4 separate regions of the Homo sapiens genome follow, and all the other regions are linked to region 4. The links are contacts of gene promoters, found by promoter capture Hi-C in human tissues and cell types (Jung and others, 2019). All regions are on one chromosome and are shown on one strand. The core of a region is centred on a gene start or on the middle of the fragment in contact, and the rest is flanking DNA. Distances in the headings are between cores, read along the strand shown.

Region 1 (6,473 bases), core at 1,922-4,421, 240 kb after region 4:
AGAGGGTAACACAAGCCAACATGAGAGTCTCCTGATACAGCCAAGGAGCCTTACCTATGCCACACGACACACTGAGAGACCTGAGTTTGACTTTCTACCTGAGTTTCACGTCAGCTTCCAATGCTTAAGGAGCACCAGGAAGACAAGGGTGGCTGAGGACCCAAAGCCAAGTCATAGATTCGAGGAAAACCTGCCTCTCCACCACACGAACACACAGCAAGTCTCACCTCTACACTCAAACACCAAGCTAGAGGAAACACAGGGGAAGGGAGATCAAGACTTTATCAAAAAGGCTACTAAAAAAAGTATGGCTAGATGCAATGGATCACACCTGTAATCCCAACACTTTGGGAGGCTGAGATGAGAGGATCGCTTGAGACCAGGAGTTCAAGACCAGCCTGGGGAACACAGCAAGATCCCGTTTCTACAAGAAATACAAAAATTAGCCAGGCGTGGTGGCATGTGCTTGTAGTCCCAACTACTCTGGAGGCTGAGGTGGGACAAAGGCTTGAGCCCAGAAGTCTGAGGCTGCCATGAACTGTGAGCATGCCACTGCACTCCAGCCTGGGCAACAGAACAAAACCCTGTCTCAAAAAAAAAAAAAAAAAAAAAAAAAAAAGACAGAAGTACCCAAAGACTAACGTTTACTCTCCCCATACCTCCCAGAACATGAAGAGGTTTATTACAATACCAGAGCCATTTTGAGAACACGTTTTATTTCTCTGCACATTTGATGCAAGGTTGTGATGTATTGGCCACTTTGCTACACATGGCATATTATGACTTGGCTGCTATGTTGTTTCTTCTTCCTTGAACCATTTTTTCTTCTCTATCGTCACCTGGTTAACTCCTACTCTTTCACATTTCATCTTAGAATCGTCTCCTCCAAGAAGCAAATCCTTCAAGTTCCAGTTTCACACCTCTCCCATGACACCTGCACTTCCAGATCCTGGTACCTATTTTGTAATGCAGACTAGTCTGATCTGTTAATCTACTAGACTAAGCTCAATAAGGGCAGGGATCCCATGTGTCTCTTCATCATTATCTCCAAGACACACAGTAAACACTCAGACCTGCTGGGTCAACTGCAATGTCTTCAAGAAGAAAAAAAAATTATCATAGTGTATCTGGAATTGGTGGGTTCTTGGTCTCACTGACTTCAAGAATGAAGCCGCGGACCCTCGCGGTGAGTGTTACAGCTCTTAAGGCGGCGCGTCTGGAGTTGTTTGTTCCTCCCGGTGGGCTCGTGGTCTCCCTGGCTTCAGGAGTGAAGCTGCAGACCTTCGCAGTGAGTGTTACAGCTCATAAAAGCAGTGTGGACCCAAAGAGTGAGCAGTAGCAAGATTTATTGCGAAGAGCAAAAGAACAAAGCTTCCACAGTGTGGAAGGGGACTCCAGCGAGTTGCCACTGCTGGCTCCGGCAGCCTGCTGTTATTCTCTTGTCTGGCCCCACCCACATCCTGCTGACTGGTAGAGCCGAGTGGTCTGTTTTGACAGGGTGCTGATTGGTACCTTTACAATCCCTGAGTTAGACACAAAGGTTCTCCACATCCTCACCAGGTTAGCTAGATACAGAGTGTGGACACAAAGGTTCTCCAAGGCCCCACCAGAGTAGCTAGATACAGAGTATTGATTGGTGCATTCACAAACCCTGAACTAGACGCAGGGTGCTGATTGGTGTGTTTATAAACCTTGAGCTAGATACAGAGTGCCGATTGGTGTATTTACAATCCCTGGGCTAGACATAAAGGTTCTCCACCTCCCCACCAGACTCAGGAGCCCAGCTGGCTTCACCCAGTGGATCCCGCACTGGGGCTGCAGGTGGAGCTGCCTGCCAGTCCTGCACCATGCGCCCGCACTCCTCAGCCCTTGGGTGGTGGATGGGACTGGGCGCTGTGGAGCAGGGGGCAGTGCTCATCGAGGAGGCTTGGGCCGCACAGGAGCCCATGGAGGGGGTGGGAGGCTGAAGCATGGCCGACTGCAGGTCCTGAGCCCTGCCCCGCAGGAAGGCAGCTAAGGCCCGGTGAGAGATCCAGCGCAGCGCCGGTGGGCTGGCACTGCTGGGGGACCCAGTACACCCTCCGCAGCCGCTGGCCCGGGTGCTAAGCTCCTCATTGCCAGGGGCCGACAGGGCCGGCCGGCTGCTCCCAGTGCGGGGCCCACCAAGCCCACGCCCACGCCCACACGGAACTCCAGCCGGCCCGCAAACGCCGCGCGCAGCCCTGGTTCCCGCTAGCGCCTCTCCTTCCACACCTCCCTGCAAGCCGAGGGAGCCGGCTCCAGCCTTGGCCAGCACAGAAAGGGGCTCCCACAGTGCAGCGATGGGCTGAAGGGCTCCTCAAGTGCCGCCAAAGTGGGAGCCCAGGCAGAGGAGGCCCGAAAGCGAGCGAGGTCTGTGAGGACTGCCAGCACGCTGTCACCTCTCAATAGGATGTATCCTGTGGGCTAGAGCCACCCTTGTGGCTTGTAATATTTGGGATCCATAACAATTTTAAGAATTTAAAATTCTTATGTCACTTTCTCTGACTCAGAGGGGGCTAGGAGAGACATTTCCTCCAATCTGTGGGGTTCTTCCTAGCATGAGAGATAGAGATTAATTACATGATAGATAAGAAAGGTTAGCATTAAATAAATGCTAAGAGTAGTGCAGACTCATAAGAGAAAGCTACAAAATCCATTCAAAGTTTACCTTTGCAATTAATGTCAGCAATCACTTCATTCCTCGCCATGGTCTCTAATAGTTGTCTTACTTCTTCAGCATTGCCATTTCTGGCGTGATGGAGAAGCTGTTGCTCCGCTTCTGTGTTCATTTCTAAATTAAGAAAATAATAACATTGCTATTATTTAAGAACATAATTAGCTTTTAGATATCACCTGCTAATACAGAAAGGGGAAAGAATCCTCATTTTGCAGCTGATAAGACAGACACAACAACTGAATAAATCCGTTGCAGGGTGAGAACTTGAGCCTGAGACCCCTTGCCCTTCCTATTATTATTGAAGCAGTACAGGAGACACTTGGGCAAGTCTCTTAACTTCTTAAGGCCTTAGTTTCCTCATCTGCAGAATACAACCAACCGCATAAGCTGTTTGTTGTAAGATTATGTATGTGAAAGCATTCTGTCAAATACATAGTATTATGCAAATAGTTATTACATTAAAAATTAGACATAAAAGGAAAAAACAAAATTAGAGATAAAGTCAAAGTATGACTTTATTTCCTATATGACCATTCATATAGGAATAGTGTAAGACTAACATGTAAACTAACACATTCAAAACTGTGCAAAGAATCATTCTGAATAGAAACTCATTATAGATAAATGCCCTGAAGTGGCTATATGTAAACAAATTTATTTTTTCTGTCACATTTTCTTATCAAGCCCCAAACCAAATATAGAAAATTACAACCAAATTTCAAGCATTTATGTCAAAATGAGCAAATATTACAAATAGCAATTCCCAGAAGTATGTCATTCTTACTAATAATCAAATAAATAAAAATCATTCAAACACAAGTGATATTTTTCATGCCCATTGAATTAGCAAAAATAAAAAAAGACAAGAAACAATGCTGGCATGGGCAGGAAATAGCACTCCTGTAGACTGCTAAAATGAATATAAATGCATACAACCTTTCATACATTACAGGTGGAGATCAGCAATTTGGCAATATCAAATAAACTTCAAAATTCATATATACCATTTACTTTGTCTAGGCAACTCTATTTCTAGAAATCTATCCTGCAAAAACATTTACACAAGATTTTTATTTCAATGTTTATTTTTCCCCTCACTTTTGCTGTCATCTTATACAAGATTATTTTGAAACCATGCTTATAAAGATTACATTATTTGTAATAGTGGAAAAGTTAGAAACCACTCCATGTCATCAACAGGGGACTGGTTAAATACATCTTCCAGTGAGGCTAAAAGAGATGGGCTGTATAGGCTGGTGACTGGATGGGTTTTGAAGGCATGGTTTCAAAACAGAGCAGAGCAAACAGCTTGTCTCCAGCCCTCTTGCCCTAATCGGCATTTCTTATGCAGGCAAGCCAGGCTTTACCCTCTATGAGACTTAGCTGGTTATATTCCCTAAAGTACAAGAGAGACACCAGGAGGTCCCAGCAAGTGGTCAAGCCAGGCAAACCTTACAATGAAGTTAGCAGTCAACAGGGCCCACCCACTCTCTCAGTTTTCAATCAACTTTCTAGCTCCCCACTCTTAAACATGAAAGACAAAGACCAAAACCAAACAGGGAAGAAAAGCAACCTAGAGAAAACAAGGTATCAAAGAAAATGTTAAAAAATAATAACTAATATCCTTAGATAATAAATGACATTCTGTCCTGTAACAAAAACAAGATGCTATTAAAAAAAAATAAAGCTTGAGAAAAAGAACTTTGGAAATAAAAATAGCAAAAATTAAAACTTCAATAAAAGAGTTGGAAAATAAGTTGAGAATATCTCCTAGAAAATAAAATGTTAAGAAAATGGGAGATAAAAGATGAATGTTGGCCAGGCACAGTGGCTCATGCCTGTAATTCCAGCACTTTGAGAGGCCGAGGCGGGTGGACCACTTGAGCCCAGGAGTTCAAGACCAGCCTGGACAACATGGTGAAACCCCAACTCTACTAAAAACACAAAAATTAGTTGGGTCTGCTGGTGCACACCTGTAACCCCATCTACTCAGGAGGCTGAGGCAGGAGAATCACTTGAACCTGGGAGGTGGAGGTTGCAGTAAGCTGAGATCATGCCACTGCACTCCAGCCTGGGTGACAGAGTGAGACTTGGTCTCAAAAAAAAAAAAAAGAATGTTAAGAGAATTGGTCCAGGAGGTCAAACATTGAAACGAAGTTCTAAAAAAAGAAAACAGAGAGACAGAGAAAATAAAGAATTTATTTGGCAGGCCGAGGTGGTAGGATCACTTGAGGCCAGGAGTTTGAGACCAGCCTAATACGGTGAAACCTCATCTCTACTAAAAATAAAAAAAAAAAATTTAGCCAGGTGTGGTAGGGGAGGCCTGTAGTCCCAGCTATATCGGGAGGCTGAGGCAGGAGAATCGCTTGAACCTGGGAGGCAGAGGTTGCAGTGAGCTGAGATCACGCCACTGCACTCCAGCCTGGGAAACAGAGCAAGACACCGTCTTAAAAAAAAGAATTTAAGGAAGTCTTACAGCATTGAAAGGCCTAATGAGAGCCCAACAATTCTGGAAGATTTCTGATCTACAGACAAAATAGAACCTATGAAAGCACATCATCATGAAATTTTAGAACTTTGGTAACAAAAGATATCAGGTAATAAACAAAAGAGCAGGAATCAGAATGATTTTGACTTCTCTATCACAACATAAGCATCCAAAAGACAACAAAGCAATACCTAAAAGTTCTGGAGGAAAATTATTTCCAATCCCCAATTCTATAACCAGCCAATCAAAAGTAGGAGTAGAATAAGGACATTTTAAAATATACCAGTATGTAAATTTATTTCCCATGCAACACTTCTCAGGAAGCCACCAGGGGTGTAGCTCACCAAAATTAAAAAACCAAGGAAGAGGAAGACATTAGCAAAGACATTAGAAACAGAAAACTAGCAAAGGAATCCCCAGAGTGAGGGGAAACCCCTGATATCTAGCTGTGGGCCTGGCCTAGCTCTTATCCATATTTGGTTTATCTGGCCCACACGCTAAGGATGTTTTGCTGCATGTCCAGCTGAGGGTCCTAATTCCACCCCTCAGAAGTGTTCTCCTTTCACCCACACCTCAGAAATACCTGTGAGCTCAGAGGCAGAAAGTGAAGAGCAGCCTAATCCCCCAACAAATTCCTGGATCCAGGATCCCACATCTGGTCCCTTCTATAGCCCTACCAAGCCACCAGCCTGGCTAAGGCCTGTTTCCAGTGCTCGCACAAGGCCTCGCTCAGTAGCTTCCCTTTGAAAGAGCTCTTACAGGCTGGGAGCGGTGGCTCACGCCTGTAATCCCAACACTTTGGGAGACTGAGGCGGGTCTATCACCTGAGGTCAGGAGTTCGAGACCAGTCTGATCAACATGGTGAAACCCCGTCTCTACTAAATGCAAAAAAATTAGCCAGGCATGGTGGCACATGCCTGTAATCCCAGCTACTTGGGAGGCCAAGGCAGGAGAATCACTTGAACCCAGGAGGCGGAGGTTGCAGTGAGCTGAGATTGTGCCACTTCACTCCAGCCCGGGCAATAAGAGCAAAATTCCATCTCAAAAAAAAAAAAAAAAGAAAAGAAAAAAGAAAAAGTAAAAAGCTCTTATAAACTCTGCAGGAAGCCAAACCCAGGCTCAGGCTGTTTAAAGAAAAAATTATTCAGTGATACTCGTTAAAGCATGAAAGGAAAGACTTTATTCAGGACCCCCGTGGTAGTTACAAGGACCACTGCAAGAGAGTCCTGCAGTGGGGAAGAGAGCTTGAGCTCAACTCTGAATACAGCAAGGACAAGTGGGATTATA
Region 2 (5,884 bases), core at 3,337-5,836, 210 kb before region 4:
AGAGCCAGGAGGAATTCTCAAGTTGAGGCAATAAGGAACCCATTGGTGGTGGTTTGTGTTTGCATGATATTAACACAAGGCCCCTAGACAGTGATGTGGATGCCAGTCAGTCCAGGTTTTCTAGAAAAGAGCAGTAGGTAGAACCACAAAAGAGGTGGCTTTAGTTTTGGCTCAGCAAAACTTTAGGTTAATTCAGCACTCAACCTTTATTTGCCTTTTCATCTCCATCCATTAAAGAAATATATAGATATAGAGATGCATATACATAGAGAATTTGCTTTTTTAAAACAATTTTTTGTAGAGATGGGGTCTTGCTGTGTTGCCCAGGCTGGTCTCGAACTTCTAGCCTCAAGTGATCCTCCCACCCCCAGAATTCTGGGGTTACAGGCGTGAGCCACTGTGCCCAGTCCAGAATTTTCTTTCTTTTTTTGAGACAAGAGTCTTGCTCTGTCACCCAGGCTGGAGTTCAGTGGCGCCATCTTGGCTCATTGCAACCTCTGCCTCCTGGGCTCAAGTGATTCTCCTACCTTGGCCTCCTGAGTAGCTGGGATTACAGGCATGTGTCACCATGCCTGGCTAATTTTTTGTATTTTTAGCAGAGACGGGGTTCCCCATGTTGTCCAGGCTGGTCTTGAACTCCTGAGCTCAGGTAGTCCACCCACCTTGGCCTCCCAAAATGCTGTGATTACAGGCATGAGCCACCATGCCTGGCCTAGAATTTTCTTAGTAACTTATTTTGGGATCCTCCAAACAAGGGACTGCTTCCTTTTTCTGGGCAAGTTTTATACTTTGACCTTTTTTTTTCTTTTTTTTTTTTTTTTTTGAGACGAGGTGTTGCTCTTGTTGCCCAGGCTGGAATGCAATGGCATAATCTCGGCTTACTGCAACCTCCACCTCCCGGGTTCAAGCAATTCTCCTGCCTCAGCCTCCCGAGTAGCTGGGATTACAGTGCCTGCCACCATGCCCGGCTAATTTTGTGTTTTTAGTAGAGACGGGGTTTTGCCATGTTGGTCTGGCTGGTCTCGAACTCCTGACCTCAGGTGATCCACCTGCCTCTGCCTCCCAAAGTGTTAGGATTACAGGCATAAGCCACCATGCACAGCCTATATTTTGACTTTTTATTAAAATCACTGGAACATGGAAAATGCAGGAGATAGAGGCCAGTCAAAAGATTTCACTGGCCCTTCACTCCCTCTAAAGCAAAATTCTAAGGAATAGTCAGCTGTTCTGGGTGTTGCCTCATCCCTGTGGTGAAGTCTTTGGTGGCCCAGAGATTCCTGAAACTGCCATTGGGCATGAGTCACTGGGAGGTGGGGTGGGCACAGAGGAGTTCCATGGATAATCCACAGCCAAGCTCTGTAGGGGCAACCAGCCAACGCTTCCAGAGCAGGGAGGTGTTCTGGTCCCTGGCATAAATGGAGGGACCTTTTAGACAAAGTTCTCAAACCTAACCTGGAGCAAGGCAAGCAAGTGTAATCACTAAATCAGCTTTGCTCAAGGGATTTTGTGCACGTTTTGTTTCTTCCCCCTCTCACTGTAGTGTTTCTTCTGGGAATGGGGACCCAGATCTTGGAATGGCTTGTTTCCGATTATAATCAGAAATCATTCTGTTAATCCCATCTCCTACCCAGGAGAAGAGCAAATCATCCCTGGTAATGCCAGAGGGTGTGACACCAACAAGGGCATTTTTCTTGAGGACCTACACCATTGTTTACAGAGTGTGATTATACACACTAAAATGAAAATGATCCAAAAAGTAGATCTATTGAACATCGACTAAGTACCCAACACCAAGATTAGGGCTGCCTTTTGTTCTTTTTGCTCTCTGAAGTCGGCCTGCAACAGCCATGGAGCTGGCTAAGCTTTTGTGGACAGATTGGCCCAAAGTATACATAAATACCCCAACGCAGGAACCCACCAACACAACAACTCATGCCCCAGTGCAATCACATTCCTCTAGCAAGTATGTTCAGACCCTGTATCCTGGAGTAAATGTAGAACTGTAGGTCCTCAGGTAAGCCAAGGTAACAAGAATCCCCCCAGGAATAGTGGAAGTAAATCTCTTCCATTTTAACACTTCTGCTGTAGGTAACTCTTCTAGAAAAAGGCATGATCACTTCCAAGTGCTGCAGGAATACCAACTGTAAGTGTAAAAAGCAAGGGCTTCAAGCCTCACTAACCTGTGTGACACACTGACAGTACAGACCCCAGCTCTACCACTTACCAGCTGTGTGACCTTAGGCAAGGCCTTAACCTCTTAATGCCTCATTGCTACATCTATAGTATGGGCATAGTAGCTGCCTATCTCTTAGGGTGGTTGGAAGATTCAGAGTGTGTAAAGGAATTAGCAGAGGTCAGCACATGGTCAGTGCTCAATAAATGTTAGATAAGAAAACCTGCCCTTCCTGCACATGTATCCTAGAACTTAAAATAAAATAAAATAATATAAAAGAGAAAATACCTCCCTCAAAAGCTTATTGTAAGTTGGATTCATAGAGCTTCGTGCAAAATAGGTGGTCTGTATCTGTTAACTGCCTTTCTCTCCTACTATTTTCCTTTTCTGCAACCTTCTTTCTTTGACCAATAATCTATGGAGAGAGGGACATCTGGAATGTCGTTGTCCAAGAGATATGTTGAAACCCAAAGAAGAATTGACCTAAAACCATGTATAAATAGGCAAGCTCCAGGAATGGAAATGAACCCTCCTCCTCTTCTGAGGCAAAAGGCCATCTTTATAAAATAATTAGGCTTATACTGTAATGCCAGTGAGGATTTGTTTCTTTCTTTTCCTTTTAATGAAATTTAATTTTAGGTCTATTACAGGTAGCTCAACTGTTTCTAATGAATTGGATTAAAATGAATGCAGACACCTTTCCATTTAGAAAAGTAAGCTGCATTAGGGATTTAGAATGAAATCAGCTTTGGGTTTTCTTAGTACATCATTTGTTTAAGAAACACAAATATTTGCCTGGACTTCAGTTAGTTCATGTGTGTGAATGCTTTATGTGCATTCAGCTCCAGACAGATCCAGAAGTCAAATCGAAGGGGAAATGCCCTGGGGCCATGTAGAAAGAGCTGCTTTAGAAATTGCTCTCATTATATAAGAGCAGTAATATGGGAGTAGTTACTAACTTGACGATCTCACATTGAGTCCTTACTCTGTACAAAACACTGTTTGAGTGTGTTACACATATTAACTTTCTTAGACTATGACAGCCCTATGAAACAGATTCACATATTCCCATTGTCTAAATGAGGAAACAGGCACGGAGAAAAGTTGCCTGTTCAATCAGAAGGGACAGAACTTGAACCCAGGCAATTTGGCTGGTCCAGAGCAGCACAATTTTGCCTCTCAGAAACACCTGCTGAGCATTCACGTCCAGGTGCCATGCACTGCTGCAAGCTCTTGCTGTACGTTAACTTGTTTTTTTGGTTTTGTTTTTGTTTTTTGAGGCAGAGTCTCGCTTTGTTGCCAGGCTGGAGTACAGTGGCACGATCTCAGCTCACTGCAACCTCCGCCTCCCGGGTTCAGATGATTCTCCAACCTCAGCTCCCGGGTAGCTGGGACTACAGGTGCCTGCCACCACGTCCAGCTAATTTTTGTATTTTTAGTAGAGTTAAGTTTTCACAATGTTGACCAGCCTGATCTCGAACACCTGACCTCAAGTGATCCACCTGACTTGGCCTCCCAAAGTGCTGGGATTACAGGCATGAGCCACCCCACCCGGCCCGTTAATTTTTTAAATCCTGGCAATAACCCTTTGCCCACAGGTAGGAGGTGGTAGATACAGCAGCATATGAACCCAGACAATGTGTTCCATTGTTTCAGCTTGGCATTGGTTAAATCAAGCTACGTTTTTCATAATTGAATAGAACCAAAAAGTAACACTTTGTTTCTTCTGACTTTACAGTGGCTAACTTAACAGTGAACAGAAAAAAAAGAGCAAAAGGTTTTCTAGAGCACTCCTGGTTCCTACAAATGATTTATTACTTTATTAATATATATGTATATCATATATCATCTATTAACTTATTAATACATGTCCTATCCACCTGCAATGCCGTGACTCCAGCGGGGAGGGACGGGCAGTTCTAGATATTGTGCATGTTCTCTGTCTCTTTACCTTTTGCGGCCACTGGCCATTCTTCTGTTAACATTGTTGTCTGCATTTTTAAAGCTGGGAATGTAAACTTACACAGAAAGGAAGTCAGTTCTCCCAGCATCATAAAATAAGTAGCATTATGGGAATCCCATGGGAAAGGATAAACATAAAACACCTACTCATTTATGGGTGAAAAGTACTAAAGAGCACAGCGTTTCAGCTCTGATTTCACGTGAGCCTGACATGATCCATCTCTTCCTTTTATCTGTGTTCGTAATCAGATTTAACATTTCTACGCCTGCTTTCCGAGGCTGCATGAAAAATTTGAAGAAAACCAGTGGTGTCGTTAGATTGAATGATACTGTGGGAGTAACCAAAAAGTGCTCGGAAGACTGGAAGGTAAGTGAAAGTTCAGAACCTCGTGAAGGAGTGCTTCCCAGCCAACCCACCTTCCGTATCCATTAACGCAGCAACTTTTGACTTCTTTCTGATAGCACACAGTGTTACAGTGAACTGGCTCATATACACTCCCCATGTGCTTGCAAGATGCTGAACCTTTTCAGGTTTGCACATTAACTTTGTAGGAAAGTAGGAAGACCAACTATATACACAAAAACTTACAGATGATTGCTGACTTATTATGCAGAAAAGTAAGCTCTCTTTCTTTCTGAGGTTACATAAATCACATTAATCAGTTTGAGTAAAGTGAGATAGGGTAAGGTACTGTATTTCAGCCAAGAAATGATTACAATGCCAGTAATTTATTCCATGTTTGCATTTCAGCTTGTGCGATCTGCCTCATTCTCCAGAGGAGGACAATTGAGTTTCACTGATTTGGGCTTACCACCTACTGACCACCTCCAGGCCTCATTTGGATTTCAGACCTTTCAACCCAGTGGCATATTATTAGATCATCAGACATGGGTATGCAGTAGTGCATTAATATCAAACAAGATTTAAACCTGACTCAAAGTTTGATGTTAAAAACAACAGAGAGATTTAGAAAGTGGTGGAGTTGTACATTTTTTCTATCATCACACAGTAAATGCTATTGTATAGTTCAACCATAAACGTTATTCCCCACTCTGGGGTAGGTCCTCAAAGAAATCAAGTTTAGAAAGTAACATTATAATTTACAGAGTTGCATTTGTGTGTACTCGCGGACTCATTTTTATTCTTTTCAGGTATATTTTATAATAAGAGTTAAGGTGGATTATAACTACTGTAGTTAATAATGTAGCTTAAAGTTTCAGAGCTCAGAAAGAAAATCAGAGTGTGTCCCTATGATTTCTTTTTGATTGCATTAAAGGTAGCTCTCTCCAGATTGCCTTTTTGCAGCAGCAGCAGCAGCAGCTAGTTGGACAATATTTATACCTGGGGAATTGGAGAAAATAAGATCCTTTTCTCTTTCCTCATGTACAACAGAGCCACATAAATTCTCTTCCACAAGGAGATACCATCTGTAACTTAAGCAGATTTAGCTAGTGTGGTTATGTAGATACAGAAGTCACCTAATATTTAGAAATGAATATTTGTGGAATGAGTGGAATTTTTAAATAGAAGTAGAGTATGATTATTTCTGAATTTGTTTCTTTAGGATTGCAGAGCACAGCAGACTTCTAGTATCTGTCAAGAAAATGGCTGGTGGCTGACTCTGTGGCTCTGTAATATCAGGAAGGCCGCCCCTCTCTTGGTGGCTGACTCTGTGGCTCTGTAATACTAGGAAGGCCGCCCCTCTCTTGGTGGCTGACTCTGTGGCTCTGTAATATTAGGAAGGCTGC
Region 3 (5,723 bases), core at 817-3,316, 170 kb after region 4:
TTAGAAATCCAAAATGAAAGATCAGTCAAATCCATTTATTACATTAAAAATGTCATTTTGAAGGCAGTTTTATATATCATTTCCCTTTAAAGAGGTGGGAAGAATAAGCAAGAAAATTATTATTGTAAATTTGCTTGGTTATCAAAATAGAAAATATTTATTCTGAGAATCTTGACCTTATAAACAATCGAATCACATTCTTTTAGGTAGAGTAATATATTTAGCCTTATGAAACTTCCCTACTTTGTACTCCTAATCTCAGCTAGCCCATCACAAAACATTTTGCACCCCCAAAATCAAACTTACTATAGATCAGTATGTCAAGGTGGCATAGGTAAATACTCTTTTCTCCTATTTCACCTTATAAATTTTTTAGTGCTTACAAAGTTCAACTCAACCACAGTAGAATTATTCATGTTATCACATTAGTGACAGGCAATATTCTCTTCAAAATTTGTATTACTCTCCTTTGTTTTGAGGGCTCTAACAACACCTACGTACCATTCACTTGGTGGAGAGCAGGGGGAGAATACCTACACTATGCAATTTAAAACACCATATATGCCTGATAATTTTTCCAGACACAGCCTGTGAATACAGGTTGAGGGGCAGGGAAAAAGTTTATCTAGAGGCACCAAAACATGCACTGCAACCAAATGCATCACTCATGATGAATAGAAAATCATCATTCTTGCTCTATACATATTTAATACTCTGCTTATGTGCAAGTCAATGATACTGTTTTATCCTTCCTATGATGAAAGTAAGCTAGAGGCATAAAAGTAAGCAATGGCTTCAATTGCAGACTATGAATCTGTAATAAACAGGATAGTTTTCCTAAGTTATAATTAAAGGCAGGAAACACCTTCTATAGCATCATCTTCAAATACATGAATCACATTTATCTTCCCTTGAATCATATTTCCATCTAACAGTTATTAATAAGTTTCCTTGATCGACGATTTACTTGTTTTAAAGGGTACATAACAGGTCAGCTGGAGAAGATCCAATCTACACATACTGTTTTAAGTTGTGTACAAAGTATGTCTTCTGTTCTAAACAACTTAGTGCTTTTTAACTGATACTAAAAGATACTAAAAAGAAGAGGTTATTAATATAATAAAACATAATATGGTCTCCCATTTGCTTAGTCGCTACTAGTTATATTTTGAAAAACTAAAAATCAATTTATGAAAGTTAATTCTTATTAATATTTTGCAGAGTCCAACATGGTTTCTCATTTTTGACTTCTATGCCATTGATATTATGTCAGGAACTGATATGATTTGGCTGTGTCCTCACCCAAATCTCACCTTGAATTATAGCTCCAATAATCCCCATGTTTTGTGGGAGGAACCCGGTGGGAGGTAATTGAATCATGGGGGTGGGCTTTTCCTGTGCTGTTCTCATGATAGTGAACAAGCCGCATAGGATCTGATGGTTTTATAAAGGGGAGTTCCCCTGCAAAAGCTCTCTTGCCTGCTGCCATGTAAGACATGCCTTTGCTCCTCCTTCACCTTCCACCAAGATTGTGAGGCCTCTCCAGCCATGTGGAACTGTGAATCAATTAAACCTCTTTCCTTTATAAATTACCCAGTCTGGGGTATGTCTTTATTAGCAGCATGAGAACGAACTAATACAGGGACTCTTTTTAAGTTTTAATTTCTATTTATTTATTCTACATAAATGGAATCTCACTATGAGCAATGTTATAATACCTAAAGTTTAACAGTATTTTAACTTTGCCCAAGTTATCTGGACAAAGCACACAAGAACAAGGATTAAACCCATTGATACAGGGGCCTAGAGGATCAGAAGTTACCCCAGGTGAGCAGCTGAGCCACATTTACAACACAGGTCTCCTGCTTAGAAACCAAAATTTTAGCTGTTGGTTTTGTATGAGTTAAGCTGATGTTAAATTACCTTATGATCCCTAACCTACAGGGCAGCTCGAAAATGCATATCAAGGGGGTGAATAGCTAGAGAGGAATGCATAGGCTAGTAGAGAAGTAATTAATTCCAGGCTATTTGCTGCAGAAAATCCACATTTGGTTAATTAAGCACAGAAGCAGATTGCCACCTACTCAGCAATAAAAATGAATAAACTACTAATACACACAACATTACGGTGAAAAAAGACACCTAAGAGCACATACTGTATGATTCCATTTACATGAAATTCTACAACAGGAAAACTGATCATGCTTATAATGACATTGTCATTATATCAGTGTCATTAGGTCAGTGGTTGCCAGAGATGGAAGTGGAGGGTATTATCTGGGAAGAGCAGCAAGGGAACAACATTTTGACATAATAAAAATGTTCTCTATCTTGATAGGAGTGGTGGTTACACAGACAATACACATTTGTCAGAATACATCAAATTGAAGACATAAAGTGAATTCCTTTTTTCTGCAAACATTATATTTCAATATTAATTCAAACTTTAAAAATAATAGATTGTCAAACTCTGATCACTTTCTTCTTTGCAGAAAATGGCCGCTATTACAAGCAGTGGTGCCGTAGCACTTATCTCTAAGTCTTCCTAACTCCAGCCAAATCCACTTCAAAGATAGCCCCATACTCTGGCCAGGCTCGGTGGCTCATGCATGTAATCCCAGCACTTTGGGAGGCTGAGGCAAAAGAATCATTTGAGCCCAGCATTTCGAGACCTTCCTTGCAACATAATGAGACCTAATCTCTACAAAAAAAAAAAAACAAAAACAAAAACAAAACAATGAAAAAATTACCCAGGCTTGGTGGCACATGCCTATAGTCTCAGCTACTTAAGAAGCTGAGGCAGGAGGATCACTTGACCCCAGGTGGTCAATGCTGCAGTGAGCTGTGATCACACCACTGCACTCCAGCCTGGATGACAAAGTGAGACCCTGTCTCAAAAAGAAAAAAATAATAACCCATACTCCATCTTTCCTAAGTCAACCCAAAAGCACATTTATTCTTTCTGACATCTGGCGATTATTATGCCCCTGCTTTGTAACTTTCTTAGGGTTTCACTTTGCAATATGTATTTACATAAAGTAAAAATAAAAAACAAAAGGATATAGAGAGAAAAGTAATTCTCCTTCACACACTTGACAATCTTATTTTGCAGCTTTCTCAGCTGCAGAGCAACAAGTGCTAATTTCTCATCTTTCCTGAATGATCTAAGTCTACACAAATATATATGTGTACATCCCTGTTTTTTTTCCTCCCAAGTAGTATCATATTTGGTACATCATTTTATGCCTTGTCCTTTTCACTTAACTGTATATCTTAAATATATCAGCATATATACATCTGCCTCATTCTTGCATGGATGTACCAATCTTTATTAGCTCCACGTGGATGTACATGCAACTTTCTGCACATTTATTTTAGTTGGGAATCAGTTATTCTTTTTTTGTTGTTGTTTTTGAGAGAGGCTGGCTCTATCACCCTATTGCCCAGGCTGGAGTGCAGTGGTGCGATCTCAGCTCACTGCAGCCTCCGCCTCGCAGGTTCAAGTGATTCTCGTGCCTCAGGCTCCTGTGTAGTTGGGATTACAGACGTGCACCACCATGCCTTTCTAATTTTTGTATTTTTGAGGCAGGATTTCACCATGTTGGCTAGGCTTGTCTCGAACTCCTGGCCTCATGTGATCTGCCCGCCTCGGGAATCATTTATTCTTAAATCAGAAAAGCTTTATCTTATTTTCTCATTCCATTAAACTCGAGCATCATCTGCTCATTACTTTTTTTTTTTTTTTTGAGACAGGGTCTCACTCTGTCGCCCAGGCTGGAGTGCAGTGGCGTGATCTTGGCTCACTGCAACCTCCACCTCCTGGGCTCAGGTGATCCTCCCACCTCAGCCTCCTAAGTAGCTGGGACTACAGATATGGGCCACCACGTCCAGCTAATTTTTGTATTTTTAGTAGAGACAGGGTTTTGCCATGTTGCCCAGACTGGAGTGCAGTGGTGTGACCACAGCTTGCTGCAGCCTCAGCCTCAAAATTAAAAAAAAAAAAAAAATTTGTTTTTAAGATGGGGATTCGCCATGTTGCCCAGGATAGTCTGGAACTCCTGGGCTCAAGCAATCCACCCACCTCAGCCTCCCAAAGTACTGGGATTACAGGCGTGAGACACCATGCCTGGCCTGCTCATCACTTCTTGTAACACAAAAACAGTTCAGATCCTACAGAATCAAGACATCTTCAACAAATAAAACCCCCACTTTGCTAGTACCACCCAGAGCCTCTAAGAGCCTATCCCAGCACTGTCCAATAGAACTTTCTATGATGCTGGAAATATTCTATATCTTCGCTGTCCGTTGTGGTAGCCACATGTGGCTACTGAGCACTTGAAATGTGGCTAATATGTAGTTAAATATAGTTAAAATGAACAACTGAATTTTTTTTTTTGAGTCGTCTCACTCTTTCGCCCAGACTGGAGTGCAGTGGCACAATCTCACCTCACTGCAACCTGTGCGCCCCGCCCCGCTGGGTTCAAGCAATTCTCTTGCCTCAGCCTCCAGAGTAGCTGGGACTACAGGCGCCCGCCACCATGCCTGGCTAATTTTTGTATTTTTAGCAGAGACCAAGTTTCACCATGTTGGCCAGGCTGTTCTCAAACTCCTGACCTCAAGTGATCCACCCACCTCAGCCTCCCAAAGTGCTGGGATTACAGGCGTAAGCCACCGTGCCCAGCTGAATAACTGAATTTTTAGATTTTAATTAATTTAAATGTAAATAGCCACATGTGTAAATAGCCACAGGAAAGCTAATAGCTATCATATTGGACAGCGCAGTTCTATACCAATACCATGCTTGATTAATTTCTAATTTTTATTTCTGAAATATTTTCAAGTTGCTATTACAGCAACAACCATGAGGTCAATAATTAATTCTAGGACTTGTTTTATAGAATTATATTGTATAAGACAATGTTTACCAAAAAATGTTTATACTGAAAAACTAACTCACTCTCTCTCTCTCTTTCCTTCTAAGAGACAGGGACTCACTATATTGCCCAGGCTGAACTCAAACCCTTGGGCACAAGTGATCCTTCCACCTCAGCCTTTCCCTCATTTCTTATAGGTCTGTGTACTAATCCAAAAGCATGTTAAGGAAATAAAATCAGTTTTGTTGTTAATTCAGATGATTTTAGAGTATATCAGTCCTAGAATGACTAATTCCCCTTAGAATGTCTATAGGTATCAAGAATAGACCTTTCCATAAATTGGCCCCTGAATTTCACTGGAACTTAAAAACTCAAGAATGAAGGGCATCCTGGAGCCAGTCTACTGACAAGCTATGATTCAACACACTTCAAAGCTCATTTTGGATTTTACCTATTTTGAACCAGTCTCCAGATGTTGAGACAGAATCAAGATTCACAGCATTGGCCAGGCATGGTGGCTCATGCCTGTAATCCGAGCACTTTGGGAGGCGGAAGCGGGAGGATCACTTGAGGTCAGGAGCTTGAGACCAGCCTGGCCTACATGGTGAAACCCCGTCTCTACTAAAATTACAAAAATTAGCTGGGCATGGTGTTGTGTGCCTGTAATCCCAGCTACTCAGGAGGCTGAGGCGAGAAGATCGCTTGAACCCGGGAGGCGGAAGTTGCAGGGAGCCATGATCGCATCACTGCACTCCAGCCCGTGCAACAGAGCAAGACTCTGTCTCAAAAAAAAAAAAAAGAAAAAAAAAAAAAAGATTTACAGAATTAGCATTCAAACTCTGTTGGAGA
Region 4 (6,167 bases), core at 2,237-4,736:
GAAAATAATCATATAAGTGGAACTATTTGCATCTATGTGTGCTTCTTTTTTTATGTTGTCATCACTCATTCCTTCCCCTGTCCTATTTTGGAGGCTCTCAATGGATCTTCTAACTTATAAATGTCAAATATATTTTTGTATTAGATTGTGCCTATGATGAGAGAAATCTTTAATGTATATTTTATGTATGCTGAACACATTTTTATAATTTGACACACTTGGAGGCATGGTCTAGTAATAATAATGTAATATGTACCTTGCTGGTTAATATAACTAAGATTTTGCCTTTATTGGGTTAGGTATCTTTTTTTTATTTTAGCACCTGATAGCTGTCTTCTACTGAGTAAAGAATTATAACTTTTAGATGTCACAGAAAATTAGAGTATTTATTGTCACATATTGTGTAAGTCAATTATTTACTGAATTTGCACTTTTCTGTCTCTGCCAACTAAAGTTAAAGGACAAGTCATATCTGATTTTTAAAATGAGCACATGCACAGGCATGCACACACACACACACACACACGCAGACACACACCTTTGCTGTGTAAACTTTTCCAGTGGATTTCTTCCTTAAGCAAATCATGGTGGCAAGTATTCAAATACGGTTTTCACTATGAAGATACACATTCACAAAATCATGATGTACTGTTTTGGTTTCTGCAGATGGTATATTTTGTAGAAAGAAAATTGTTAAATCGAGATCATCCAAGAAGATACATAGTCGAGGCAGATACTTTAGAAGCTAGAAGAGGAAATGCAGAAAGAGAGAAGGATAAGGGGAGCAAGAGAAAGTTGGTCCATAACAGATAATGCTCCTTTTTCAGTAAAGTATGCAGAAATCACCAAGAGCACAATTTAACTGGCTTTCTTGTGAAAGCTAGCAAGGGGGCTGATCTCTGTCACCTAGTTGACTTGGGTATGAAATAGAAGCAACACACTTGAAACCCAGGTGACCTCTATGTAATGCCTAATTCCTCCTCCCAGAGGCCAGTGGTTGTCAATTTCCGTGTTTTACATAGAGATTCTGGTTTGGTAGGTTCTAGGTAGGGCTTGGGAAGGCATTTTTAACAAGCTCCTGGGATGATTTCTTATGCAGGTGATGTGGATTAGAGAAACATTGCCCTATTCATCTTTTGTTAAGGATTTGGTAAATCTGGGAGAAGAGTCAAACACAAGCAGAATTATATAGAATTATATAGCAAGGATAAGTCATAGAGCATACATCATGGGGCCACTGAGAAAATGCTTCTAACCCACTGGCTTCCTAAAGTAGGAGATTTCTGAGATGAGTTCTAAAGGAGAAGCAGGATGCAGTCAGGTGAAAACACTTGCTGGAGCAGCATCCAAGGCCTTGGACCTAATGAGCAAAAGCACAGAGGTGATAAGCGACATGTGTGTTCAAGACTCTGGAGGGTCAAGTGGGAATCACATGGTGAGACATGAAATACGAGAGGTATGCAGAGGCCACACCCACAACCATGGACTTCCATAGGGTAAGGATTTGGGGTGTGGGAGAGGGGCAGTGGAAGGTACATTTGCGTTTTAAATCATTGGTGACCAAAAAATAACATACTGGTGATTGAAAGGGAGATGAACACAAGCCAAGATTGTGAAACCACATCAAATCATTAAGAGTTCAAGAAATCAAAGCAGCGATGGGCAGTGGTTTGAAAATTCTTGGTTAGATGTTTACATTGTAACAATTTGCATTTCAGAATGACTCAGCCAAACAGTCACTGAAGAAATGGAGAGTAAAATCTTGTTTTTTGAGTTACAGGTATTTCTGCATAATACCTTACACCTAATAGATGTTTGAGATGACCCACCAAGGTTACGTTAAAAAAACCATAAATGTCTCCAATTCCAAAAGACACCATAGATGAGGTACTTAGGATTTTCAGTAGCTCAGTTCATTATGTCTCTGACACCTAAATGTGTTATAAACCAAGCTATCAGAAATCATGACAGCCTCATCTCACTTTTATTTACATTACCAAAGTGGTGCTGGAGGCAAGTGATGAAGGATGAAAAATATCTGCAGACCCACCAACATACTCAGTCTAAAAGCATTTCTCCCTTTTTTTTGTTTTGTTTTGTGAGACGGAGTCTCGCTAATTCTCCCTTTTTAAGTATGTAAACTTCCCGAGAAGAGGGAGCTTTCCTGGCACTCAGTAAAATAATTATTAAGTGGATTAATGAATGGCACCAGATAATGCTGACTGAGGCCTTAACATTGCTTTTATTGCAAAGTGCTCTGGAAGCCCTAATTTTTTCTGAATTAAAAAATAGGGTTTTGTTTTATTTTGGTTTGGTTTTTGTTTTGTTTTGTTTTGTTTTTGGTCAGATATCTGCCCTGGCGATGCTCTTTGGTTTAAAGTAGTTGCTTTTTAAACATTTGAAGATGGATCAAAATTAAGGCTGCTTGTACTCTGATAATCATGATTATGGTGTTATTTAGAGCCCAGCCCAAATACCTGAGCCTAAATGAGTGAAAGAGCAGAGAGTGGGCGTTTTTTTGTTTTTTTTGTTTTGTTTTTTGTTTTTTTGAGACGGAGTCTCGCTCAGTAGCCCAGGCTGGAGTGCAGTGGTGTGATCTGGGCTCACTGCAACCTCCGCCTCCCAGGTTCAAGCAATTCTCTGCCTCAACCTCCAGAGTAGCTGGGATTACAGGCACCCACCACCACGACCGGCTAATATTTTGTATTTTTAGTAGAGACAGGGTTTCACCATCTTGGCCAGGCTGGTCTTGAACTCCTGACCTCGTGATCCACCCGCCTCGGCCTCCGAAAGTGCTGGGATTACAGGCGTGAGCCACCGTGCCCGGCAGAGTGGGCGTTTTTAAATGAAGCAGTATTCCTTTAGTTTGGTAAAATTGAGCTGAAGTTACACACAGTAACACCTTGACTTGTTGCTGACGGTGTGCTTTGTGGGGATAGTTGGTGTCTGATCTCAACTGTGGAGAAACAGGAAGTTTCTGGATTCATGCTGAACTCCCATTCCACAGGCGAGTTTCACAAAAGAAAAAGTGCTCTGTTGCATACAATTATTCACTGTGTGTCTACAACGTGGCAGAAATTATTATTCCTAAAGGTGACCGAAGAGAGCTATAGTTTATGGGGCCAGGAGCAATGTGTGGAATGGCGAGGCAGTGACAAGACAGCACTGCCATAAATCTCTTACTTTCTTTCCAAACGAGCTCTAATTTTAAGCTCAACGACCAAAGACGGAGAGGCAGTCGCTTTGAGCTACTCCTGGCTATTTGTTGGGAAATCACCTAAATCCGTTCAGATTTAGCCAGAAAAGGGGAAATAAGTCTCCCTCGCCGGCCAAATCATGGCCTTTGTCGCTTTCGGCTCCCCATTGGCTGCGGCCGCTGTGGCCCCGCCTCCTTGAGTGGTGCGGAGCTTTGTGATGCGGAGCTTCGTGATGCACGCCCCGATGCCTGCGGGGCTATAAAAACGCTCGCAAGCGCCAAGTCTCCTCAGGAGCCGCCGGCAAGGGGGCAACGAGGAAGCTCTTAAGAGCGCGGCCGGAAAGCAGGTGGGGAGAATCTGGAGAAAAGGCGCACCCTGCGGCCTCGGAGACCATTATGTCTCAGGGAGTCTCTCGCAGTGGGAGAGGTCGTCGGGGCAGGCGGAGGGTCCTCAGAGTCGGGGGTGGGGGGCCTGTGGGGCGGCCCCGGCCCACACCGGGGAGTGCGGCGACCAGACGGCCAGCTGCCGAATCTGAGGCCTCGGTGGGTCCGTCGCCCGCCTCTCTTGGACAAGTCCAGGCGATGTGAGCACGCCCAGCCTCCTACATTTCACTCCCGTCTCTCCCAAACAGACCTAGCGCAAAACGAGCACTGACACAGCGGGGGCCCACATCCCGGAGGTTCTTTAGGGAGAGGTCGGGGAGTGCGGTTACCTATGGCTCCGAAGTCCCCGCTGGCATCCTGAAAGGCATCGTATTTCTCGCTTAAGGCGTTACCCTTGTGGTAGTGGGCGCATGGACGTTTACAGTTGGGCGGGGCAGGATTTAAATTCCGCCAGTGGTGGACCAGTATTGGTGATAGGAGAGATCTGGGAAGAATTATTAAGCTGTCGCTTTTAAATAACCCTAATAGTGTTTGTGACAATTTTACCCGTTGACTTTTCTCAGCTTGCTTAGGACAGTTCTTTGTGGGGAACTGAACTGTAGGACGTTTAGCGTCCCTGGCCCCACACGTTCCCAAAGTCGGGGTGAGAACTAGTGGGACGGGGGATCATGGAGTGCATGGCCGCTGTCCCCACCTTTGGTAGCACCAACTGCTAACTGCCTCCTGAAAGGTTGTTGGCGCCATCATGGTTTCTGGGAGCCACTTTCTTTTTTATTCTTTTTTTTTTTTTTTGAGACGGACTCTAGCTGTGTCACCCAGGCTGGAGTGCAGTGGCGCGATCTCGGCTGTCAGCTCCGCCTCCCGGATTCACGCCATTCTCCTGCCTCAGCCTCCCGAGTAGCTGGGACTACAGGCACCCGCCACCACGCCCGGCTGATTTTTTGTTTTAGTAGAGACGGGGTTTCACCGTGTTAGCCAGGATGGTCTCCATCTCCTGACCTCGCCTCGTGATCCGCCCGACTCGGCCTCCCAAAGTGCTGGGATTACAGGCGTGAGCCACCGCGCCCGGCCTCTGGGAGCCACTTTCAAAACGGTCTATCTACTCACTTTGGGTACTTAAAGAAAATTAGACATATGATATATATGAGTATGTATCAAATATATATATGTATCAAATAGTATGTATGTATCAAACATGTCATGCTGCCTATGCCCCTTAGCATTTAGCATGTGGGACTGCGGAATCCCCACTTCTGATTTTTTAAAAAATTCTTTTTTTGTGAGTACACAGTAGGTGTATATATTTATGGGGCACATGAGATGTTTTGATTCAGACATACAATGTTAATCACATTGGGAATGGGGCATCTATCCCCTCAAACATTTATCCTTTGTGTTACAAACAATCCAGTTATACTCTTTCTGTTATTTTAAAATGTACAATTATTGACTATAGACACCCTGTTGTGCTTTCAAGTAGTAGGTTTTATTCATTTTTTATACCCATTAACCAGCCCCACTTTCCCCCTCCCCCACCCAGGCCCCATTACCTTTCCCAGCTTCTGGTAACCATCCTTCTCTATGTCCGTGGGTTCAATTGTTTCAATTTTTAGCTCTCACAAATAAGAGACCATGCAATGTTTTCCTTTCTGTGCCTCACTTACTTCATTTAACATAATAATCTCCAGTTCCATCCACTTTGTTGCAAATGACAGGATCTCATTCTTTTTTAATGGCTGAATAGTACTCCATTGTATGTATGTACCACATTTTCTTTATCCATTCATCTGTTGATAGACGCTTAGGTTGCTTCCAAATCTTAGCTATTGTCAACAGTGCTGGAACAAACATGGGAGTGCAGATATCTCTTCTGTATACTGATTTCCATTTGGGTATATACCCAGCAGTGGGATTGCTGGATCACTTCTGGTTTTTTAAAGATGGTTTAATTCAGTAAATCTGTTGAATGATATCGTAAAAGGAAGTTTTCATTAAGGGATTCAATTATACTTAATTATATACTGAAAGGATTTGCTTTGGCCAGTACAGATTCATTTTGTCCTGACCTTTGGGAAGATGAGATGTGTTTTTAAGTATTGAACATTTTGCTATGAGATATTCGTTACTTTATAATAGAAGCTGTGCCCTTCTATAATTGTTGTAACTGAACTATGCCACTTAACCCCGTGAAACTCATTATTTACTGTAGGGATGTTGTTGAGGACATGGTTCATTATATCACACTATTTGCTTTATAAGGACTTGGGGGAGAAATTTCTCCTGGGTTTCAGTATCCAGAATAGCTGTGGTTCTCCCATACAACTGATGTGTTTTTCACCTCAAGAAACCTGAATCATTTAACCACCTATCTCCTATTTTGTGATGGCTGCTTGGTAGCTTAGGGGCCGATTTGATGCCCATCTTTATCAAAGTGAAGGAGCTATGGCATGCATTGGAGTGCTAACTTTACCTGTAGCTTCACCTTGTTTTTCCTATCTTAGTTTTCCTAGGGATTTTCTTAAATATTTAATTTTGTTCTTTAGAAGCCTTAGGTGATTTTTTAGGAGTCAGAATACATACACCCTGA

The links. The method cuts DNA at HindIII sites, captures the fragments that hold promoters and counts their contacts. A contact is called where the count stands out against the background at its distance.
Region 1: a contact is called between a fragment that was not itself captured here and the fragment with the promoter of CABYR in region 4, in 1 of the 25 tissues and cell types used here (small bowel).
Region 2: a fragment that was not itself captured here is called in contact with the fragment with the promoter of CABYR in region 4 in 1 of the 25 tissues and cell types used here (spleen).
Region 3: a contact is called between a fragment that was not itself captured here and the fragment with the promoter of CABYR in region 4, in 1 of the 25 tissues and cell types used here (stomach).

Annotation. Positions count from the first base shown.
Region 1 is chr18:24,374,724-24,381,196 of GRCh38, forward strand. It overlaps OSBPL1A (oxysterol binding protein like 1A), which reads right to left. Exons shown (of 28, transcript NM_080597.4): 2 at 2,690-2,812. The coding sequence starts at 2,810. The region is part of intron 2 of LOC124904268 (a long non-coding RNA gene); the gene reads left to right. Among named protein-coding and RNA genes, the nearest start is that of OSBPL1A, 20 kb to the right of the region's middle. RefSeq lists a silencer at 3,922-4,216. The HindIII fragment of the contact is 6,496 bases long and covers 1-6,419 here.
Region 2 is chr18:23,923,739-23,929,622 of GRCh38, forward strand. LAMA3 (laminin subunit alpha 3) reads left to right here. Exons shown (of 75, transcript NM_198129.4): 63 at 4,385-4,502; 64 at 4,887-5,027. Among named protein-coding and RNA genes, the nearest start is that of LINC02958, 56 kb to the right of the region's middle. The HindIII fragment of the contact is 8,922 bases long and covers 126-5,884 here.
Region 3 is chr18:24,304,388-24,310,110 of GRCh38, forward strand. All of the region lies in intron 13 of OSBPL1A (oxysterol binding protein like 1A), which reads right to left. Among named protein-coding and RNA genes, the nearest start is that of MIR320C2, 14 kb to the right of the region's middle. The HindIII fragment of the contact is 5,355 bases long and covers 1-4,744 here.
Region 4 is chr18:24,135,576-24,141,742 of GRCh38, forward strand. It overlaps CABYR (calcium binding tyrosine phosphorylation regulated), which reads left to right and starts at 3,487. Exons shown (of 6, transcript NM_153769.3): 1 at 3,487-3,543. TTC39C (tetratricopeptide repeat domain 39C) reads left to right here. Exons shown (of 14, transcript NM_001135993.2): 14 at 1-25. RefSeq lists an enhancer at 3,072-3,131. The HindIII fragment of the contact is 11,741 bases long and covers 1-6,167 here.